Regions from separate parts of the Homo sapiens genome. Here region 2 is linked to region 1. Evidence: promoter capture Hi-C in 16 types of primary human blood cells and fetal thymus (Javierre and others, 2016). All regions are on one chromosome and are shown on one strand. Each heading gives the region's core, a stretch centred on a gene start or on the middle of the fragment in contact. The rest is flanking DNA. Distances are from core to core; before and after follow the strand shown. Region 1 holds the start of FZD6 (frizzled class receptor 6). Region 2 overlaps SLC25A32 (solute carrier family 25 member 32).

Region 1 (3,752 bases), core at 1,253-3,752:
AACCATCAAAATGGTTCTGATTCATGAAAGTCTCAGTGCATCATTTGTTCAGTTCAAAAGGACATCTAGCATCAGTTTGAAAAAAACCACTGAAAGATAACAATAATATAATCTGTACTATCCTTTTAAATAACATCTACTTAGTATTTATAAGCTTTCCTATTCCAGACATGAGTCCACAATGAGGCAGTCAGACAACTATTCAACTGAACAACAATAGAAAACTTTCAAAGCTGCAAAATCAAATCTAATCAATTTTAAAAATAGTATATATATTAAATTTGTAGGGATTTCCTCTCTTAGCAACAATCTGAGGGAAAAAAGCCTTTACTATTCTGTTTTTCTGGAGAAAAACTACAAAAACAATGCATGTGTCTAGTTTCCTTCAGGAGACTTAACAACCTAACAAATCTGTATGGGAAGGCAGGTTCCTGTCTGTACAGGTAGCTTTCTTCTCACACTCCCTAGTAATTTGCATATCTCTAAACCAGAGACAGGTAACTAAGGCACCTAAGGCAATCTTTAGTGTCACTGTACTCCTCCCAAGTGGTTTCTTTTAACAAGTATCTTATAAAGAACATATAAGTGCTATGCTTAGAAAACAAAGTCACTTTTTAGTGACTTTGTGATAGCCTTAAAATACAGTCTACAGCAACAAAATATTCTGATAATTTATTTATTTCAGAAAAACTGTACCAAGTGAATATTACAACTACTTATAAAAACTTGTAAATTTCTTCAGTTTTAGTCCAGGCAATAAATATTACATGTTCAGTGAAGTAGAAAAATATTCAGAATTCGCATTTCTAGAAGAACTATCATACTTGATTCAGGAAAGCAAAATATTTTCTAGGTACAAGGTATTTAGAAATCATGTGTAACCATACTTCATTATATAAAATGAACCCTATTCAAACGAATCTACTAAACAGGGCCGCAAAGGTACACAAAACATAAGTCAGTAGAGGGATTTAATTTTCAAAAGGACTTTTCAAAACACAACTTGTACACAACTTGAAGAAATCGGCTCTGTTTAAAAATAGACTTATTTTTACTAGTTTATTCTAGAACAGAGCATAAACTACTATTCAATAAACGTATGAAGCACTACTCACCTCCATTTCCACCGCGGCAATACTCTGGTCATAATGACCCATCAGATTAGGGAAAAACGTCATGTTGTAGGCCATTTTCATACATCTGGGAACAGTAATTGGTTCACAGGTGAAGAGACTGTGCCCTCTTAGGAGGGGTAGAAAAATACACGTCAACAAAAATGTAAACATTTCCATTTTCTTCAAATTCCTGATTTTACCACATGGCTTGGATGAATCACTCTTTGCATCCTCAGAAGATCCCCATCCAAAGATAAAATGTTCAAATTCCTCATTTCACTATTTTACTCATTTTCAGGCTTTCCTGAAAATGAGTCCTGGGTCAATTACTGTAAAAACAAAAGGAGGGTGTATCAGCAACATTTGTCATAAACTCAAATGTGGAGTCAAAGTGCAGAGTTAAGATTTTCACCCCAGGTAACAAACACTGGAAAAACAACGGAAAATTCTGTCCTAACGAGATACTCTTCCACCTGCCTTAGCATGGAATATATCATTTGCTAAGGAAGCTGCACCTCTAGGAAACCGATGCTAGGAGGTTGGTGCTGTATGGAAGACAGGGTTAAAAAGAGGGAATGGCAAGAGTAAGATGGAGGAAAAAAGGAAAGCTGGTGATTCGGAGTAAATTATAAAGGATTAATATAAGCATACAATCTAAGGGCCCCTGTTGGAAAGCTTATTAAGTACAAGAAAACTAAGGCCCTGGGAAATTCCTTAAGACCCAAAGAGTTCTTAAACTTGTAAAAGACTCTGAAGAGTCAGTTTTTGTGGCAGTCTTCTGGGTATGTAGTTTTCTCGATTTTCGTAAGGCCAACTAGAGGGAGACTTTTAGGATTCCTCCAGTGGAGGAGCAACATTGCAGTTTTCACTGGCTAGGAGGGTGTAGTGCTGCCGTCGAAAGGAAAGTGCGCAAATCTGTCCCGGGGGAAGGGCGAAGGCAGTCCCCTTGCGGGAGGAAGGCTGTAGGCCCCGGATTACGAATTACCCGCGCCCCAACACACACTGATGCCCGGTCCGCCAGCGCCCCACACCCGGGAACCTGCCCCAGGCCTAGAGCCAGACAGCAGCGTTCCTGGCCTGCGCGGCGCCGCGGGGCCCCGGCATCGCCTTTCAGAGCCGGTTCCCGCTTCCGAGGAAACTCAGGTGCGGGCCGTCCCGCCGTTGCCTCCCCAGCACCTGCGGCTCCCGGCGCGCCTCATCCCAGCCGCGGCCCCTCGCCCCTCGAGGCCCTCCCCGCTTCCCCCGGCACCCGCCCGGCCCCTGCCCAGTCCCAGCCGTGGAAGCCTCACCTCGGGGGGCGGTCGAAGGCCGCTGTCCCTTCCCGTCCCCGTCTAACCCACCGTTCCCCCCAGGGACCTGAGACGGCTCCGGGGTTGCGTCCGGGACTGGAGCTGCCTCGAGAGCCGCACGGGGAGCGAGAGCTGAGCGATCCCGCGAGACTGCGCCGCCAGGTCGGGCGGGCAGGTCCGGGCTCGCGGCGGCGGCGGCGGCGGCGGCGGCGGCGGCGGCGGGACTGGCCCTGCGCCCGGGCACCGCCTGCGCTGCGCCGCCCGGCCTCACTCCGCGGCCCGCCAGGACCCGGCCCCGGTGAACGGGCTCGGGGTGCCGAGGTCCGGCTGCGGGGCCGGGAAGCCACCTCCACCTTGCCGTCTGTTACGACCCCCGAGGCGCAAGGCTGAGCCCCATCTCGCTATCCGGGTCCGGAGGGGTTCACCTTAGAAGGATTTTTTGAAGCTCTTGGCGCTGGCTCTAAAAGAACCCACTTCCTTGCGGATTTCAGGAGTCAAGAATCCTTAAACGGAGCCAATTTGCTTTGTAAAGCCAATTGCCCAAGTGACTTGAGTTCGAAAGGAGATACTTCCTGGACAACTGCTATAAAAACAACAACAAATACTTTTATTAATTCGGGGAGCCTGGTCACCAACTGGATGCTCAGGTAGCAGTGGGATTCCAGCCCTGGCGGGTCCCACAGTTTTATTGATACAAACCCTAATAGGAAGTTGAACTGCTGTAGAAATCAACCTAGTTTGGGGTACCAACTCTGTCATAGATATTAGATAAATTACCCTAATCTTTAAGGGGCATAGTTTCCTCACAATATAGGAATGACAATAGTTGTAATGATGGTTAACGTTAATTGAGCACTGGCTGTAAGTCAAATAGTGCCAAGTTCGTTACAAGTGTTTACACCTAACCTGTAAGGCCCTCCTATGAAACAGGCAGAATAGTATGAGAAGCAAATGAACTTGTAGAAGTACTTTGAAAAATGCAAAGTAACTTGTAGATGGAGGCTATTCTTGTCAGATAAATCATCCTGTTGCAGAAAAGGAATGTCATATTTCCATACCTAGAAGGACAACCCTGAACAACCAGAGTAAGAGTTTTGGAATCTGTGGGGAAAGACGAATTTGGAGTGGGGAATTCCTCCCCAGTTTTATCAAAAGCTTACTGATGTTGGGAGACAGGTAGTGATGAAGAAATATTAACATCATTAAGAGCTGGATAGTTGATGTATTGCAGAATAAATTTCTATGTAGGAAGAATATTTTCCCCTAAATTTCTAATTTTCTACATTGGAAGACTATTTCTCTCCAGTTTCTACGAACTTAATGAGATCTTTTTGTGATCAGGCTCTAG
Region 2 (3,752 bases), core at 881-3,380, 100 kb before region 1:
TTTCTGTTTTTTTTGTTTGTTTGTTTTTCGGTTTTTGGTTTTTTTTTTTGAGGCGGAGTTTCGCTCTTGTCGCCCAGGCTGGAGTGCGGTGGCGCTATCTCGGCTCACTGCAACCTCTGCCTTCGGGTTTCAAGCGATAATCCTGCCTCAGCCTCCTGAGTAGCTGGGACTACAGACACGTGCCACCACGCCCAGCTAATTTTTTGTATTTTTAGTAGAGATGGGGTTTCACCATGTTGGCCAGAATTGTCTCGATCTCTTGACCTCTTGATCCACCTGCCTCTGCCTCCCAAAGTGCTGGGATTACAGGCATGAGCCACCACGCCTGGCTGTTATATGGAATTTCTTAGCAGAAATTATTATGATTACTCTGTGCAGATTTCAAGAATTTTACTCATGACAAAGTGGTAAAGTTTAGAAAAGTTATGAATCCCTAATGGTTTAAAATGATTTGGTATAGTGTTTCTTTAAAGTATAATTTTAATTTTCAAATTATACAATTTAGTAGCCTTGTTTAATCGCCTCACTTATGTATACTATCCAGAAGGAAAAAACAGTAAGAGCCGTAAGTCTTTGTAACTCCTACTTTAATACCTTGATTTCTTAATGTTGATTAGTCAAAACCTAACTTAATCATTTTTGAACACATAGCCACTAGCAAAAACCTGAGTCATAACAGGACCAAATATTTGTTGAATAAAGGACTACTTAGGAAACCTGGCAAATGAGAAACTTAACCAGATGAATTTTTTAATAAAATTGTCACTCTATAAAGGATGTAAAATGTGACTTACTGTATTACATAATTATTTAATTTTTGAGGGGTAGTAGTTACTTTGGATTTGAGGAAGATTGTGATAAAGTTGGGGTAGATATATGTGTCACATGCACAGATTATTGGGGTGCCAGATTCCTGGTTCTTTTCGCCTATCTTCAACCCCTCTGGGATTATACCATGTGCTACACCTAAGGTCTGTATCTGCTTACCATCTGTTCTCTGCACCAGGCCACGTTGTTTAGGAGTCAAGACATTTTTGCTATCCTTACACTTCAAAGAGAAAGCATTTCACATTTCCATCTCCCTTTTAATTTACCTCTAGCTAACTGCATGAGGAACTTTTTATGACTACCAAAAACAATGTCTACCTTTTGACCCTAAGACTGTGCCTCAGAAACTACATTTCACAGTTTCAGATATGGTCCTGTGCATTATCTTTTTTTTTTTTTTTTTTTTTACATAAATGTACTGTTTCTAATTTGGGTTGTCATAAGTGCGAAAGTATCTGTATGCTGAATAATCTTATTGAAATCTCATTTTAGGAGCCATGACCCTCTGCATTACAAACCCATTATGGGTAACAAAAACTCGCCTTATGTTACAGTATGATGCTGTTGTTAACTCCCCACACCGACAATATAAAGGAATGTTTGATACACTTGTGAAAATATATAAGTATGAAGGTGTGCGTGGATTATATAAGGTAACAAATTATCAATATATTTTAAATAACTGAAAAATTTGAATTTCCGTTGGCTCTGTTGTCTTAGTTCTGAATGACCTATAGTAAGTCCTAAAAAGAAGCCACACTTAGGCAAAAAACAATTTAATGAAAACTGAAATATAGTTAATAATACTGAAATTGTACTTTAAGCTGTTTGTCCCCATTAACATAGGATGTATCATCATGACATTGGTGGGCATGAGATCTGTCTAAAACTTTGTCAAGTTTCTATTTGATAAGTTATACAACCAGGTCACTTATTCCTTACTCCATTCCTTGGAAGCTGTGGTCTCTTGGGGACCTGGGATAATGTAGTCTGGAGAAGACATTAGCAGTTCTAACAGGATCTTATTTTATTGAGTTTTTTTATTCATCTCAAATCTTACATAAATTTAAAAATAACGAAACAAATCAAACCCAGCCTTTTGCCTGTTGTAATATTTTAAAAATTTTTTTCCTAGTGTCAGATCTGTTTTCTGATTTTATAACTCCTTTTTATTTTCCCCTTTTCTGCCTTCTATTCCCATCTATTGCTTATCCCCATAAAGAAATTTTTAGGCATACATAGGTTAAAATCAAAATTAGACACATTGAATTTCAGTTTGTTTTTCAAGAATTGAGTAATAGCTTTTAAAATCATTTTAAGGCTGATATGATTTTACTGACCTATAAGCAAGAATTTTATAAATATATTATTTTTATGTTTTTTCGTCACTTTCTGCCTTATTCTTTCAGAATACCTATGCTCAGTTCATTGATTTACCATTACCTTTAGTTTCTTAACTTTCCAGAATTTAGTTTCCCACTCACACCTCAAGTCTTGACAGTGTGGGTCTTCTTTATATGTATACTGTTTAAAGAAAAACTAATATGTGAACATCCAAACCTTTAAAAATAAAGTAGAAGAGAATACTACCCATGTCTTTATATTACAAGTTTTTAACCCCATATTTTAAAAATGTGATTTGTGCAAAATTAAATGAATTTGCTTAAAGTGCTGTAATGAGAGAGAAGAGAAAGTATTTTACTTAAATATATTGTTCTTCAAACGTATGTTGTTTTGCTTTTTAAAAATCATTCCCTTGTAGGGATTTGTTCCTGGGCTGTTTGGAACATCGCATGGTGCCCTTCAGTTTATGGCATATGAATTGCTGAAGTTGAAGTACAACCAGCATATCAATAGATTACCAGAAGCCCAGTTGGTAAGATTATTCTTGTAAAAATGATATCATTTCCTTTTATGGGTATTTAATAGGTAGAAATTTTTGTCATGCTTACTTTGGTGGTAGTGCTATGATGATGAGTACTGGCTCTGCCACTGATTTAATTTATAGTTAAATATTTATAGGCTGAAGCCACACAAATGTCAAAAATAGAATCCCTTAAAGATCCATTTAAATGTTTTTTGTATATAATTTTTACTTCTGTATTTTTAAAGAAATCCTGTCTAAAGAAAAAACTGTTTTGTATTGCCATTTTAGAGCACAGTAGAATATATATCTGTTGCAGCACTATCCAAAATATTTGCTGTCGCAGCAACATACCCATATCAAGTCGTAAGAGCTCGTCTTCAGGATCAACACATGTTTTACAGTGGTGTAATAGATGTAATCACAAAGACATGGAGGTGAGAGCACGTGCTATATCAAAAATTGCTTTGACAAGGTACCTTGCATATCTTAGACCATCCTGTTGATACTAGTTTTATAGCAAAGGCCAGTTTGCTGTGGTGAAAACATGATTGGTGGTCCCTGCTTTCCCAGTTATTACGTATGTGACCATGGCCTTAATCTCTCTGAGACTTAATTTCTTCATTTGTAAAGTAAGACTTTCTAACTAATAGGTTGTTATAAGAATCAAATTAAATGTGTGAAAATGTTTTGGAAAATAAAATTTAGGTGTTATAAAATATCTGAATGGTATTGAATATAAGAAGTCATAAGACTAGCTTAATACATTCAAGAAGGCTCCACACCTGCTACTGGCACCATAACTTTTGCAAATACTTGTTTCCATATATGAAAGAGATGTTTGTTCTTCAGTATGAGACTAGTTAAATTATTATAGGCAGACATCACCATATTTCCCTTTAATTCTAAAGGAACAGAGGAGAACATTTAGGATGTTTAAATTTAATTCAATTCAAGAAATATTTAATGAGCACCTAAGTGACAAATTTCTAGGCCGTATTCCATATTATTGGCATTAAGGAAATAAAGTTTTATATTTGTATGTGCTGTATTTAATGTT

What was found. The method cuts DNA at HindIII sites, captures the fragments that hold promoters and counts their contacts. A CHiCAGO score of 5 or more calls a contact.
Region 2: a contact is called between a fragment that was not itself captured here and the fragment with the promoter of FZD6 in region 1, in 1 of 17 cell types (activated CD4 T cells). The highest score is 6.6, in activated CD4 T cells.

The regions. Positions count from the first base shown.
Region 1 is chr8:103,297,648-103,301,399 of GRCh38, reverse strand. FZD6 (frizzled class receptor 6) reads right to left here and starts at 2,502. Exons shown (of 7, transcript NM_003506.4): 1 at 2,405-2,502; 2 at 1,116-1,444. The coding sequence starts at 1,292. It overlaps LOC105369147 (a long non-coding RNA gene), which reads left to right and starts at 2,582. Exons shown (of 2, transcript NR_148216.1): 1 at 2,582-3,051. RefSeq lists enhancers at 2,022-2,071, 1,925-2,425, 2,426-2,926 and silencers at 2,065-2,359, 2,222-2,471, 2,592-2,761, 2,772-2,821. The HindIII fragment of the contact is 1,769 bases long and covers 1,793-3,561 here.
Region 2 is chr8:103,400,893-103,404,644 of GRCh38, reverse strand. SLC25A32 (solute carrier family 25 member 32) reads left to right here. Exons shown (of 7, transcript NM_030780.5): 4 at 1,321-1,481; 5 at 2,591-2,704; 6 at 2,984-3,129. Among named protein-coding and RNA genes, the nearest start is that of SLC25A32, 12 kb to the left of the region's middle. The HindIII fragment of the contact is 7,767 bases long and covers 1-3,752 here.